Linked DNA regions of Homo sapiens: all the other regions are linked to region 4. The links are contacts of gene promoters, found by promoter capture Hi-C in human tissues and cell types (Jung and others, 2019). All regions are on one chromosome and are shown on one strand. The core of a region is centred on a gene start or on the middle of the fragment in contact, and the rest is flanking DNA. Distances in the headings are between cores, read along the strand shown. Region 1 holds the start of PRSS27 (serine protease 27). Region 2 holds the start of PRSS33 (serine protease 33). Region 3 holds the start of TSR3 (TSR3 ribosome maturation factor). Region 4 holds the start of TRAF7 (TNF receptor associated factor 7). Region 5 holds the start of FLYWCH1 (FLYWCH-type zinc finger 1).

Region 1 (2,700 bases), core at 80-2,579, 560 kb after region 4:
ATGTGGACAGCTGAGCCCTTCAGGGTGGGCGCCCTGTGGGGGCTGGAAGCAACAGCCAGGGGTGCCGGGGGTGTCAGGAGCATTGTTTGGGGCCTGGGCCTGTGATTCGCTGGTAGCTGGTGGGGATGGTGAAGCTTAGTGGGTACCACCAGCCAGAGACCTGGTGGGAGTGCCACCCTCGGGCTGGGAGTGAGGACGTGTCCAGGAGTCCAGCCTCTGGTCACAGCTGTTAGTGAACCGACTGCAAAACTCATTGCCAAAGAGTTTTGGCAATGACCTTGGTTCCTCACCCCGCTCAGGGGCAGTCACAGCCTTCCACCTCCTGTGCACATGGCTTGCTCAGAGGGCACCATCCTTGTGCTGGGAGACTGGGGGCATGGGGTGGGGGAGGCCGGGCCACTGAGGGGCCACTGGTGCCCTCCCACCCAGGAGAACAAGGAAGCCTGGAGTACTGGCTAAGCTGCAGCCTGGGATGACCTGACCCAGCCCTGGGAGGTGACTTGAGGACAGGGAAGTGTGGTGGCTGCCAGACTGGCTAGGCTAGCCCAGGAATGTGAGAGGTTTTCCCTGACAGAGAGTGTCCCGGCCCGCAGGGAGGGGCCTGGCAGGTGGGGCCCCCTGGCTGGCACCTGCTGTCCCTGACCCAGGACTGGGAGAGGGCACGGTGGCGCATCACCGGTTCCTCTGTCAGCAGGAGACAGGGCCCTCTGCCACCTACACCCCCTGCCCCCAGCTCTCTACTGAGCCTGCAGCCAGCCTGCTGGGGCTTCCGGGCACAGGCAGCAGCCCTCGGCTCGGCCACCCTCCCACCCCGAGTATGATGGTCCAGGCACTTGGAGCCTGAGTTCACATCCTGCACGTAGGAGGCCCCTGTCCTCACCTAGAGAATGGGGGGAGAGGCCGAGGTGGCAGGAAGCAGGGAGCCTGGCCAGAGCTGGCACACCAGTGCCCGCGGAGAGGCATGGGAGGAGGTGCTGCCCAGTTATGCCGGTGGGGTCCTCTGGGGCCTGTGCGCACACCTCCCACCCTGCCTCCCCACTTTGGACTCCCCACTTGGCACATCTGGAGCCTTCCCACCTGCTCAGGGGCAGGAGGGATGATGGCCTGTCCCACAGCCCCAGCCTGTCCCAGGGAGTAGGGGGCTGAGCCGGAGCCCCAGGCAGTGCAGCGGAGCCTGGTGGGGGACTGCACCACCAGGACCCTGCACCTTCACGACTCACCAAAACACAGCAGCAGCAGGAGCGGCACCGCCGCCGGCCGCCTCATGTCCTCAGGCCTGGCTGGGGCGCAGGGCCGTGGTCGGCGGTGGCAGAAGCGTTGGAGCACGAGCGAGGTGCAGGCTCCATGAAGTGGAGTTTTATGCTGGAGATGAGCACAGGCCCGGCTATGCGGCCCAACCCGTCGGCCCGGCCTGCCCAGCTCCTCTCCTCAGGAAGGAAGCGCCCAGAGCCGACTCCTCCGTGACCTAGCCCTGAACCCCGAGACCCCAGGGCAGACCCCTCACCCCAGCGCAGCACGGGGTGCCGTTGGCCTCGGTTCCTGGACCCTGAGCTGACCCAGACCCCCCAGCAGACCCCGAGCTGACCGCGGTGCACGCGAAGTCCGTCCAGCTTCATTCATTATTATTATTATTATTTTTTTTAATTTTTTGAGACAGAGTCTCGCTCTGTCGCCCAGGCTGGAGCGCAATCTCGGCTCACTGCAAGCTCCGTCTCCCAGGTTCAAGCCATTCTCCTGCCTCAGCCTCCTGAGTAGCTGGGATTACAGGCAGGTGCCACCACGCCCGGCTAATTTTTTGTATTTTTAGTAGAGACGGGGTTTAACCGTGTTGGCCAGGCTAGTCTCGATCTCCTGACCTCGTGATCCGCCCTCCTCGGCCTCCCAAAGCGCTGGGATTACAGGGGTGAGCCACCGCGCCCGGCCTCATTCAGTATTTTATTGAGCGCCGATGGAACACAGTGGGGCTGGGCCGCGCTGGTGGGAAAGTCAAGGCCAGGGGTGTTTGCGGGGCCGAGGGCAGGGGAGGCGATGGGACATGGGGCGGGGTCCGGAGTTGGCCGCAGCGACCCTCCTCCCGGGACAGCAGGCCCCAGAAGTTCCTCAGGCGCGCGCCAGCGCGGCCCAGGCGGCCGACCCGGGCCCCGGCTGCCATCCCTTGGAAGGGGCGGGGGCTTCCTGGCACCAGGCGGGGCGGAAGCGGCTCCGGGAAGGCCGGGCCGGGGTTACCGTTTCGGTGTCCCCGCCTGGCTCTGGGCGCGGCGCCGCGGCGGAAGAGGCTCGGGGAGGAAGTTATTTGGGGCACGGCGCTGACGTCAGAGACAGAGTGGGGCCGGGCCGTGGGGTCGGGGGCGCCGGACCTGTTTCCCCGCCGGCGCCGGGGGTCGGTACTCGCGGGCGGGGCGGGGCCGGGCGGCTCCGGGCGGGGCTGGGGGTGCGGCCGTTCCCGCCTCAGCCTTGTCCGCGCGCGTCGTGGTGCTGCCCTCTGGTGGGCGCGGGGCGCGGCGCGGGCGGCCAGGGGTGCAGAAGGGGCGCTCCCAGCCTCATGGTCCGGGCTCCGGCTCCCCGCATCGCCCTCCCTAGCCCCGCCCTCCCGCGTCTCCGCCTCCGCCTCCACCGCCTCCTCCCACCCTTCCCTCCCCGTCCAGTCCCTGGAGTTCCCGGGTCGGGGGTGGGAGGCGGGCTGGGCAGCCCCTGGGGGTC
Region 2 (2,700 bases), core at 110-2,609, 630 kb after region 4:
GAAGGAGGGTGAAACAATGTTGCCCTGACATTGCGCCAGGCTTTCGTGCCGTCTGTTATCTTATTTAACCCTCCCCAGAGCACTGTGAAGGTGCAGGGGGCAAGGGCGTATGAGCATGACACCGACAAGCACATCGAGGTGTGGTGAGGTCAAGGTCAGTGGCAGAGAGGATTGAGCCCTTGGAATCAAGATTAGAAAGCCCAAGAGTGCTCCAGGGAGCCCGGCCCAGGGAGCAGTGAGATGGGAGAACTGGGAGCCAAGGTGTCTGCGGCCCTCACCCCCAGTCCCTGTCCCCACTCACCCAGCACCAGAAGGAGCAGGACCTGGAGACAGGAAACCCCTCTCATTCTGTCTTCAAGGCTGGGCTGGGTAAGGGTGGCACTGCCTAGGGCTTGGACTCTGGTCTGGAGCCAGCAGGGAGAAGAGAGGAGAGTCCTGGCCCAGGGGCACCAATCCTCACACCAGCCCGTCACCCCCTCCGTGGTCCTTCTGTCTGTCCTCAGCTCCTGGTGGGTTCTGGACTTATCCTGGTGGCCCAGGCTGTATACCCTTCGTTCTGCCCAGGGCCCAGGTATGCAGCACCCACCACCCAGATATTTGGGCATCCTTGGTCTCGACAGAAGCCCTGGAGCCTAACCCCCCTCGGTCATCCTCACTCCCTCCCTCATCCCCCTCCCCCATCCTCACCCCCTCCCTCATCCTCACCCCCTCCCTCATCCTCACTCCCTCCTCCATCCTCACCCCCCTCCTCCTCACTCCCCTCCCTTATCCTCACCCCTTCCCTCATCCTCATCCCTCTCTCATCCTCACCCCCTCCCTCATCCTCACCTCCTCCTCTATCCTCACCCCGTCCTCCATCGTCACCCCTGCTCCTCCTCACTCCCCTCCCTCATCCTCACCCCCTCCCTCATCCTCACCTCTCATCCTCACCCCTCTCTCATCCTCACCCCTCCCTCATCCTCACCCCTCCTCTATCCTCACCCCCTCCTCCATCCTCAGCCCCCTCCTCCTCACTCCCCTCCCTCATCCTCACCCCCTCCCTCATCCTCACCCCTGTCTCATCCTCACCCCCTCCCTCATCCTTCACCCCCTCCCTCATCCTCACTCCTCTCTCATCACCCCTCCTCCATCCTTCACCCCCCCATCGTCACCCCCTCCCTCATCCTCACCCCCTCCTCTATCCTCACCCCCTTCCTCCTCACTCCCCTCCCTCATCTTCACCACTTCCCTCATCCTCACCCCCTCCCCCATCCTTCACCCCTCCTCGTCCTCACCCTCATCCTCACCCACTGGCTGCCCCTGCAGCCCCCACAGCCCCTGGCTTGCTCTCACCCTCACAGCCTGGCGCCTTCTGCTGACTGGGGTTGAGGGAGGGCCTGGGGGCTTAAAGTGCCAGGAGAGCGCGAGGCTCAGCCAAGGAGTAATGAACAGGGCCGGGGCGGGGCTGTGGCTTTACCGGACCAGCCTCAAACAAAGATGCTTTGAGCAGAGCTTCAGAGGTGGCAGGAAAGGGTCAATGGGTTTCTCAAAGGAAGCCTGCCTTGCGCCAAGGTACTAGAAGTGGGGGCTGGCGGAGAGCAGTGGTGCGGGTAGGTGCTGGGAGGGGTGGCAGTCAGGTGGGGAAGCTCTGCAGGATCCGGGGCAACTCCTCTCCAAACCTGACCTGGGCTCCCTGCAGAGCACACGTTGCTGGAGCTTCTGCGCTCCATTGTTCTGTCCAGAAATCCCATCTCAGACGGAAGTCCTGGCCAGACAGCTCCACCCAGAGACCCCAGCATGGCCAGCCCCCTTCCAGATCCGGGGTCTGGAGCAGCTGGAGGTGGAAAGGGACTGGTTCAAAGTTGGTGGCACTCCTTACTTGACCAGAGGCAGGGGGAGACTTGACCTTGGGGACCAGTGCAGTCTTTGGTTTGGGGTGGCCGAGACAGAGCAAGATGCTGGGGTCAGGGGACAGGAACTCCCCTTCTCTCGAGGCCCGTGGAGGACCGGGGCCCGGATGGTCCAGGGCCCTGTAGTTCCCTCTTGGGCTCATACACAGTGTTCGCTGCCTAGAAGTCTCTCAAGTCCCTCTCTGCATAGTGAACTCCTCTTATCCCTCAGCCTTCTGCTCTGCCACCTCCTCCTGCCTCCTTTGCAGCCCTGCCATAGTTGTACTTTTTTCCTTTTTTTTTTTTTTGTTTTTCTTTCTTTTTTTTTTTAAAGAGACAGGGTCTTGGCCAAGCATGGTGGCTCATGCCTGTAATCCCTGCATTTTGGGAAGCCGAGATGGGTGGCTCATTTGAGGTCAGGGGTTTGAGACGAGCCTGGCCAACATGGTGAAACCTCGTCTCTACTAAAAATACAAAAATTAGCCAGGCCTGATGGTGGGCGCCTGCAATCTCAGCTACTCGGGAGGCTGAGGCACAGGAATTGCTTGAACCCGGGAGGTGGAAGTTGCAGTGAGCCGAGATTATGCCACTGCACTCCAGCCTGGGCGACGCAGTGAGATTCTGTCTCAAAAAAAAATAAAAAGGGAGAGAGAGACAGGGTCTTGCTCTGTCACCCAGGCTGGAGTGCAGTGGTACAATCACAACTCCCTGCGTCCTTGACCTCTGGGCTCAAGTGATCCTGCCACCTCAGCTTCCCAAGTAGTTGGGACCACAGGTGCATGCCACAGCACCTAGCAATTTTTTTTTCCAGAGATGGGGTCTTGCAATGATG
Region 3 (2,700 bases), core at 141-2,640, 800 kb before region 4:
TCAGGGCCTCTTTAGATCAGCAATTCAGTAAGGAGGACGTGGAGGATAAGGAGGATTCTCTGGGCAGTGGTGCCCTGATAATGAATGGCACCCCACACACCGGCCCTGATAGAACAGCGATCCCATTCTGCCTCTACTGCAACTCCACAGGCCGAAAACCTGAAGTGACAGTTGGGGCTGGAACCGTGGTCTGTCTGAACTGTTCCCCTGTCCGTCCCTTATGCTCCTCCTGGGGTCTGTCGGCAGGAAACATGATGCTGGGAGCATAGCAGGAACAGCAGGCCGCCGGGTCACACTGCTGTGGGGCCCCTGGACTCACCTACGATGCAGAAGGTGGCAGCAAACGCTTCCACGCAGGAAAGTCTGTAGGGCCGGCCATAGTTCACGGGGTTGGCGGCCACCAGGTAGGGCAACAGGCGCAAGTGGCTCCCTCGCATCTTCCCAAACGGTGTCTCGTCCAGCCTGGCCCAGGAGCAGTCGATGACGGCGACCCCAGACTGCGCCACCAGCTGTCTGCCAGGGACAGCATGGGATAAGTTCAGGAGCCAGCACTACCCAAGGTGGAGCATGCCCCGGAGAATGGCCTAGCTAAGGGATTCAGGGACATCATTCCGCCATCCCCAAACACCCTCAAACGGACTTCACGAGCAAGCTTTTGAGGCAGCTGCTTGGGGCACCTGGAGCATGTGTTTATTCACTCAACAAACGTTTATTACCCCAAAACCTCCTTTATCCCAGGCTCTGCGCTACGCAACGGAGGCAAACTAGACAGACGTTCCCTGCCCACGTGGGTGTGGATGTGGGTGCGACATACAAGTGCCACTAAACCATCCCTGAAGGGAACCACGCGCTGGAAATGAAGACGACCTCGGGCAGGCCTCCCGCGCCTACCTGTCTGCGGGGGACGCGTACTGCTTGCCCACGGGGCTCAGCACCAGACCGCCGAATCTGTGGCCCAGGCGCAGGCAGCGCACCAGCCCCAGGCGGGCCAGCTTGCGGCCCGTGCAGCGCCGGGGGTCGCAGTGGCCCAACTCCCACATGGCCAGCGTGCAGGGCAGCGCCGCCGGGCCCGGGCCGCCCTCGCCGTCAGCCGCCCCTGGCTCCACGGAAGCTGCACGAGAGAGAGAAGGGCACTCGGCCTCAGCGTGGGACCCCCGGGCAGGCCCTCAAACCCTGACCCGCTCTCCCCATCACGCCTCGCTCACCCTGCAGCGCGGCGCCGACCTCCTCGGCGAAGGCCTCCAGGGAGCGCGTCGGGAGGTGCCGAGGGCGGCCGCCTTCCGCCCCCGGCCCGCGCGCTGCCCTCCTGCGGCCCATGGCGCGGACCTGGGGTGCCGGGGACTCCCCACCCCACGGCCGCGCCCCTCGGCCTCCCAATGGGCTGTGCGGCTGCCAGCGCTTGCGCCGGACGCCACTTCCGGTCCCCGTGGTCACGTGACCGTCACTTCACGTGACCGCGCGGCGGCCGCTGCGGCGCGATGGCGGCGGGGCTGGCGCGGCTCCTGTTGCTCCTCGGGCTCTCGGCCGGCGGTGAGTGGCCCGGCCGTCCGCGTCCCCAGGCCCCGCGCGCGCTCTGCACCCCGGCCTCCCCGCTCACGGTCTCGCTCCCCGTAGGGCCCGCGCCGGCAGGTGCAGCGAAGATGAAGGTGGTGGAGGAGCCCAACGCGTTTGGGTGAGCAGCCTCGCGGGCTGGCGGCTCGAGCGGGGGACGGCCCGGGCCCGTTCCCCGCTGACCTTGCCGCTTCCCGTAGGGTGAACAACCCGTTCTTGCCTCAGGCCAGTCGCCTCCAGGCCAAGAGGGATCCTTCACCCGTGTCTGGTGAGTGAGGAGCGCTGTTGGCCGGCGCGGGGGTGGCCGCGGGGAGCAGCAACAGTGGAGGATGGATGAGTGACCCTGAGAGTTACGGCCCGGAGTCTAAAGCATTGGTTTGTCAGCCTTCTAAAATTAATGTGGAAGTACGAGAGAATATACCAGAACGTTCTTGTAGCGAATTAAATTATCTCCAGACTTAGTCCTTCCTTTCCTTTCCGAGAGGTAACTGCTGTTAATAGTCTGGTGACTTTGCAGACGCGTTTCTGTGCTTTTACGTGCGTGTCTATGCAACTGGAAAACGTATAGTTTTTGTAATCTAATCGCTTTTTTAAAAAATCATGCTGCGCGAGTATTTGGCTGATTTGTCGTTGTCACTCGCTGTATCTCTCGGGACGCTTCATGGTGATGATATAGGTCTTCGTTCTTTCTCTTGGTGCTCAGCACGCGATAGGATGGCACTGCACTCCCCGATTGTATTTAGGTTCTTGCCATTTTTTTGGCCATTAGAAATAGTTCTGTGGAGAACATGCTGTGTAGGTGCTTTGGTTTGCCCTCAGGTGAGCGGTTTCCCAGTGCAGGATTCCAGAAGTGGAATTGGTGGGTCATGAGTATATATATCATTTAAACGCTGAATGAGTATTAAATATAATAGACAAAAATCCAAGAATTTTTTTTTTTTTTTTTTTGAGACAAGAGTCTCGCTCTGTCGCCCAGGCTGGAGTGCAGTGGCACGATCTCGGCTCACTGCAACCTCCGCCTCCCAGGTTCAAGCGATCCTCATGCCTCAGCCTCCCGAGTAGCTGGGATCACAGGCATGCATCACCATCACGCCCAGCAAATTTTTGTATTTTTAGTAGAGATAGGGTTTATTTCACCGTATTGACCAG
Region 4 (2,700 bases), core at 177-2,676:
CATGAAAAACAGTATTTGACTGGGCGTGGTGGCTCACACCTGTGATCCCAGCACTTTGGGAGGCTGAGGTGGGCAGATCACCTGAGGTCAGGAGTTTGAGACCAGCCTAACACGGAGAAACCCCGTCTCTACTAAAAATACAAAATTAGCCGGGCGTGGTGGTGGGCGCCTGTAATTCCAGCCATTTGGGAGGCTCAGGCAGGAAAATCGCTTGAGGTGGAGGTTGTGCCATCGCACTCCCGCCTGGGAAACGAGCAAAACTCCGTCTCAAAAAAAAAAAAAAAAAATCACGGGCAGAAATGGAGAAGGCAATCCCAAGAGATGAAAAGTCACTGGTAACGAGCTTCCGTTTTCATGTCTGTACCCTTTTCCAAGATTGCCTGTGGATCAGCCAGACCTCTGGGGTGCCAGAATAGGAAAATAAAGACACTTGAGAGAAAACCGAATCAACTCACTACCTTTCTTTATTGCTAAGCACTTCAATAGACACAGCGCCCACCTTACCGCTAGGCCCTCCGGATTGAGGTTTACTTAGGTTCAAAACTTGCAGCCGGCTCGCGACGAAACCTGAAAGTCAGCGCCAAAATACAGACATTAAGTCCCCACTCCTTCGTTTCGGGCAACACCTGTTTCCACTCTCAGCTCCCCGTCAGGAGTGCGCACCCTCAAGCCTCAGTCTTGCTAAATAATCAGACTGCACGTGCAGTTTTCATACGAGGTGTCAGAAGTCAAAGCAATTCATCACAGACTGGGAGAATAAGGGAACCCAAGCCCGGCCCAGTCTTACCTGCAGGTAGCTGAGGGCCTGAGATTCGGGAAGAAACCTTTAAACGCTAAGGGACAAAGTGGTGCGTAGGCCAGGCCTGGACGCCCAGGGACCTGGCCGGCCTGCAGCGTTCGGACGGCCCTCAAAGCCACGCTCGTGGCTCAGTTCGTCCCAAGATCGTAGCACATGGCGAACGTATTAACAAACCTCTTCCCCCTCGGACTCGACCCCGAAAAGACAGGGGCGGGCGAGGCTCAAGCTTTTATAGAAACTGTCCCACCTCTGTCATTGGGCTATCCTGGCGGAAGTGCCCGCCTTCCCCCGCCGCTGGTACGCTCCGCTCCCTGCCGCGTTGTTTCCACCAATCGTACCGTGGCATTTCTTTTGGAGACGGTCTCTCAGACCCAGACCCGAAGCTCCTCCCTTATGCAGAGTCCGTGAAGCCTAACGGTGAGTGACGGATGAACAAAGCCAATCAGACTTCGATCTGCAACATAGAGTGATTCTGAAGCTGCCATTCCCGCCCCGCGACGACGAGGCCGCCGGAAGTCGTAGTTTCGGAAGTGCGGCGCGTGAGGCAGCCGTCCGGGCCCGGAGAGGCGGGGAACTACACGTCCCGGCGGGCGCAGCGGCCTGGCGCTTCCGGCTCGCGCGTCTAGTCCCTTTCCCGGCCGGCGGCCGAGGGGGCATCATGAAGCGGGCTGGCGGCGCTGCCGCTCCCGGGCGGCCGCGGGCGGGTGAGTGTCCCCGCGGCGCGCCCGACCCGGGGCTCGCGCCTCGGGACCGCGCGGTGGGGCGGGATCGGGCGCGTGGAGATCGAGGCGAGGCGAGGCGAGGCGAGGGGTCGGGCCGGGGCGGGGAGGGGGGGGCGGGGCTGAGACGGTCGGGGTCGGGGTCAGGGTCGGGGTCCGCGTCGCTGTCCGTCCGCCAGTCAGTAGTCCGTCCCTCGCTCCGTCCTGTTCTCGCGCAGTTCTTTACTCATTCCTTCTTCCTGCATTCCCCGAGACTCCCGGGTGCCAGGCACTGTTCTGGGCGCCGGGAGACCGCGGAGAACACGGTCCCAGTTCTCCTGTGCTCGGCGTCTGCTGCAGGGTTCCCCAACCTCCGCACCATCGACCACGCGGCCCGGGTCGCTTTTTGCTGCGAGGAGCTGCCCTGTACATTGTAGGATGTGGAACAGCTTGCCTGGCTCCTGGCCGCTAGATACCAGTAAACACCACCCCTTCCTCAATTGCGATAACAAATGTCTCCATGCATTGGCAAATGCCTCCTGCGGAACAACTCCCCCCATCCCCCATCTAGACAGACAGGGTGGTGGGATTGACAATAGGTAGTTAAAATCATGGGGAGCAGCGGTATGTGCTGTGAAAGAAAGAAAGAGGGTGCTGAAAAAGTGAGTACTGGCCGGGGGTAGGGGCGGCGCTACCGTTAGCCAAAGGCCTGTTGGAGAAGCAGCCAGTCCCAGGACATGCAGGAGGAGCATTCCAAGTAGAAAGAGCCAGATGTACATAGGCCTGGGGTGAGAAGGGGCCTGACGCACCCCAGCAAGCACTGGCAAGTGGAGAGGTGAAGTCGATGAGGCCGGACCAGGCTCACAGGGTGCATGGTGGGGTGGGGCGGGGGGGTTATTATGCTGGCAAATGACTTGGGGTTGAGGAAGCGCTGGAGAGGCGGTCCGATCTAGGTCCAGTAAAGAGCTTTCTAACTGTGTGTGGACCACAGACTTCAGAGTTCACTGGGGAAGCAGGAGAGAGGGAGGCTAGGCCATCGTCTCCTAGTCCCCACTGGGGTCCTGCTGTCAAGATACGGTTGTCTTGAGCCAGGCCAGAGTGGTCAGCTGGGGTTGAGTCTGGAGTCCAGGGGCAGGGGCCTGCTGGAGCCCACCCTGCTCTTGGGGGTGAGGGGCTGCTGGCTTGCTCAGGAATTTCATGCCG
Region 5 (2,700 bases), core at 59-2,558, 760 kb after region 4:
GTTGCATGATTTCATTTATATGAAATATGCAGAATACGCAAATCTATAAAGACAGAAAATAGATCATATTACTTAGGGCTGGGGTGATTAGCAAATTGGAGGGTGGTGGCTAAAGGTTTCTTCTTGGAGTGATGAAAGGTTTTAAAACTGACTATGGTGCTGTTTGCACAACTCTCTGACTATACTACATATCATTTAATTGTACACTTTAAATGGGAGAAATGCATGGTATGTGAATTATATTTCAATAAAGATCTTACCAAAAAATAGTAAGCTGATTGTGTTAACATAGTTTTATGAAAAAGTACAATATTTTCCCAAAGAAATTTAGTGAGACGAGTGACATAGTTATACATTTTTGCAAATATCTTTGTTGCGGGCTTAAAAGAAGACTACTGGCTCTCATACCTGCTTCTACATTCAATGTGTTACATCACACGTCATGCAGACTTTGTAATACTATGTAATATTTCTGCTTTTTTTTTTTTAGACACAGTCTCACTCTGTCGCCCAGGCTGGAGTGCAGTGGCGCCGTCTCGGCTCACTGCAACCTCCGCCTCCCGGGTTCAAGTTATTCTCCTGCCTCAGCCTCCCGAGTAGCTGGGATTACAGGCGCCCAGTACCACGCCCGACTAATGTTCGTATTTTTAGTAGAAACGGGGTTTCACCATGTTGGCCACGCTGTTCTCGAACTCCTGACCTCAGGTGATCCACCCGCCTCGGCCTCCCAAAGTGCTGGGATTACAGGCGTGAGCCACCGCGCCCGGCCCAGGTATTTTTTTGTCGTTGTTGGCTTTCTGATGTAAGAAACAACTGTCCCTTCTCCCCCGTTGACTTATTTCCTTCAGTTTGGACTCATATCGTAGTCAAGGTTATAATCCGTTGCTATCGCTGTTTATTTGAATCTCACACTGGTTCCGCTCTGGGGTAGGGTCACTGGGGGCGTCAATGAGATGCATGAGAATCGCCTTCCCACGGGGTCAGGAAACTGACAGGCCCAAGAGTGCATCTCAGCAAACGCTCCGTTTCCTGCGGGCAGCCTCAGATACTGGGGACCGTCCTGGGGTCTCAATTAAGCGCCCCCTACCCCAGCCCCTTTACGCCAAGAGCGTCCTGTTCAGCTCCCCCATCCTAGCTCCGCCCCTGGACGCCGCCGTCCAATCTCGGGATGGCCCCGCCTTTTCCGTGAGTTACGTCCCCGCCCCCATGCGCTGACAGGCCAGGCCTGCGGCTCGGCGCCGCGCAGGGAAGACCCGGAGCAGCGGTTTACCTAAGGAACGGGCCGCGCGGTCTTGCTGCGCATGCTCTGAAGTAGCGCGCCTGAGCGTTCCGCAAGGCCGGCTCCCCGGCGGGGTCGCGCGCGCGGTCACGGGGCTCGCTCCCGAGGGGCAGGTCGGGGCTGGGAGCTGGTGCCCGGGTCGGGGTGGCGGCGGCGGCCTGGGTCGCGGGGTCGACGCTCGCTGCTGCAGCGGCAGAGGCTGAAGGATCCGCCGCGGCGCTGTCGCGGGAGAGGGAGGGCCCCGCTGCCGTCGGTGAGGACAGGCCCCTGCGGGCGGGGAATGTCCCGCGTCCCCGGCGTGGACGCGCCCGCAGCCCGGCTCTCCCGGGGGTCCCGAGGGTTGCGGGTGCTGGGGAGGGGTCTGCGTCCCGGCGCTCAGGCCGCCTCCTGTGGGGTCTCCCGCGATTCCCTCCTTGCTCCTCGCCCCTCCATCCCCACCCCCCCGTCCCCTGGCCTAAGCCCGACACCCCCACATCAAGGATCCCCGCACTCGTCCGCCGTTTCCTGGCGGTGTCTGCCCCGCCCAGCGCTGCCTTCCTGGACCCGCAGCATCAGCCCCGTCCCACGGTTGCAGCTCGGGCGGTCCCAGTGACCTTGCACTTTTGCGGGTCGGGACGCACCCCGCTCCCGCTTCTGACCCTATAGATCTCCGGTGACGGCTTTCGAACTTTGTTGACCCACAGCCGACACTGAGAAATGCCTTTTACGCGTGTACTCTGTGCCTGTGGGTCTGGATGACTGAAGCACAAGTTTAAAGGGAGACGCTTGTTTAAGCTCACATGACGCAGCTGGATCTGTTCGGATTAAATTCCGTTCCATTCTCTTCCACCCCGTTCCAAAAGGCTGCTGCTAACCCATGGAGCCTGCACATAACGGGTCTGACGTAGTTGAAACCCTCGCTCTAAACCCTGCCTGTTGTTCCTTTATTCCTTGTACTGGAAGCTGAACTCCCATAGTCAGATAATCATGTGCAAACTCCAATTCCAACGAAATGGCTTATTTTTATTTGCATATTTCTGCTTTCCAAGGGCCAATATGATTTCCAGGGCTTGATCTAGATTTTCTCGTGTGATTATATCATGTTTCTCTTGTTCCTTTCCCAAGTGCTACTGGCGGGACGTGTGGAAGGAACAAGGCTGAGGTTGGGGCTAGATTGCGGAGTGTTTATGACGCCCAGCTGATGATGCACTAAGGCTGGAGATGGAGATGATTTAATTGGGGAGAGACATGCTGAAAGTTAAGCTTTAGGAAGAGTGACCTGTCAGCACCCTATGTGGAGAATTGGAGTGGCTGCTTGCCAAAGCTGGCAAGATCGTTCAGAGGCTTTGGCTTGGGCTAAAGAGGTCGTGGTAAGGGATCATGTCCTGAGTTGGTGGGAGTGGGAAGGAGAGGGAAGATGGGTATATCAGGCATAGAGGGAG

The links. The method cuts DNA at HindIII sites, captures the fragments that hold promoters and counts their contacts. A contact is called where the count stands out against the background at its distance.
Region 1: a contact is called between the fragment with the promoter of PRSS27 here and the fragment with the promoter of TRAF7 in region 4, in 1 of the 25 tissues and cell types used here (lymphoblastoid cells).
Region 2: the fragment with the promoter of PRSS33 here is called in contact with the fragment with the promoter of TRAF7 in region 4 in 1 of the 25 tissues and cell types used here (lymphoblastoid cells).
Region 3: the fragment with the promoter of TSR3 here is called in contact with the fragment with the promoter of TRAF7 in region 4 in 1 of the 25 tissues and cell types used here (spleen).
Region 5: a contact is called between the fragment with the promoter of FLYWCH1 here and the fragment with the promoter of TRAF7 in region 4, in 1 of the 25 tissues and cell types used here (spleen).

The regions. Positions count from the first base shown.
Region 1 is chr16:2,718,895-2,721,594 of GRCh38, forward strand. PRSS27 (serine protease 27) reads right to left here and starts at 1,330. Exons shown (of 6, transcript NM_031948.5): 1 at 1,221-1,330. The coding sequence starts at 1,266. RefSeq lists an enhancer at 1,600-2,167 and a silencer at 1,901-2,660. The HindIII fragment of the contact is 19,281 bases long and covers 1-2,700 here.
Region 2 is chr16:2,786,201-2,788,900 of GRCh38, forward strand. PRSS33 (serine protease 33) reads right to left here and starts at 1,360. Exons shown (of 7, transcript NM_152891.3): 1 at 1,333-1,360; 2 at 302-404. The coding sequence starts at 347. The HindIII fragment of the contact is 27,852 bases long and covers 1-2,700 here.
Region 3 is chr16:1,350,488-1,353,187 of GRCh38, forward strand. TSR3 (TSR3 ribosome maturation factor) reads right to left here and starts at 1,391. Exons shown (of 6, transcript NM_001001410.3): 1 at 1,206-1,391; 2 at 892-1,111; 3 at 320-513. The coding sequence starts at 1,317. GNPTG (N-acetylglucosamine-1-phosphate transferase subunit gamma) reads left to right here and starts at 1,444. Exons shown (of 11, transcript NM_032520.5): 1 at 1,444-1,530; 2 at 1,615-1,672; 3 at 1,752-1,819. The coding sequence starts at 1,479. RefSeq lists a silencer at 969-1,668. The HindIII fragment of the contact is 21,021 bases long and covers 1-2,700 here.
Region 4 is chr16:2,154,356-2,157,055 of GRCh38, forward strand. It overlaps TRAF7 (TNF receptor associated factor 7), which reads left to right and starts at 1,427. Exons shown (of 21, transcript NM_032271.3): 1 at 1,427-1,503. It overlaps SNHG19 (small nucleolar RNA host gene 19), which reads right to left and starts at 1,003. Exons shown (of 2, transcript NR_132114.1): 1 at 788-1,003; 2 at 427-567. SNORD60 (small nucleolar RNA, C/D box 60) reads right to left here and starts at 750; the gene lies at 668-750. RefSeq lists enhancers at 792-991, 1,862-1,961, 1,972-2,111, 2,035-2,616, 2,617-2,700 and a silencer at 1,472-1,561. The HindIII fragment of the contact is 10,583 bases long and covers 1-2,700 here.
Region 5 is chr16:2,910,623-2,913,322 of GRCh38, forward strand. FLYWCH1 (FLYWCH-type zinc finger 1) reads left to right here and starts at 1,309. Exons shown (of 10, transcript NM_001308068.2): 1 at 1,309-1,532. RefSeq lists silencers at 1,060-1,119, 1,170-1,479, 1,500-1,649, 1,680-1,779, 1,753-1,942. The HindIII fragment of the contact is 21,473 bases long and covers 1-2,700 here.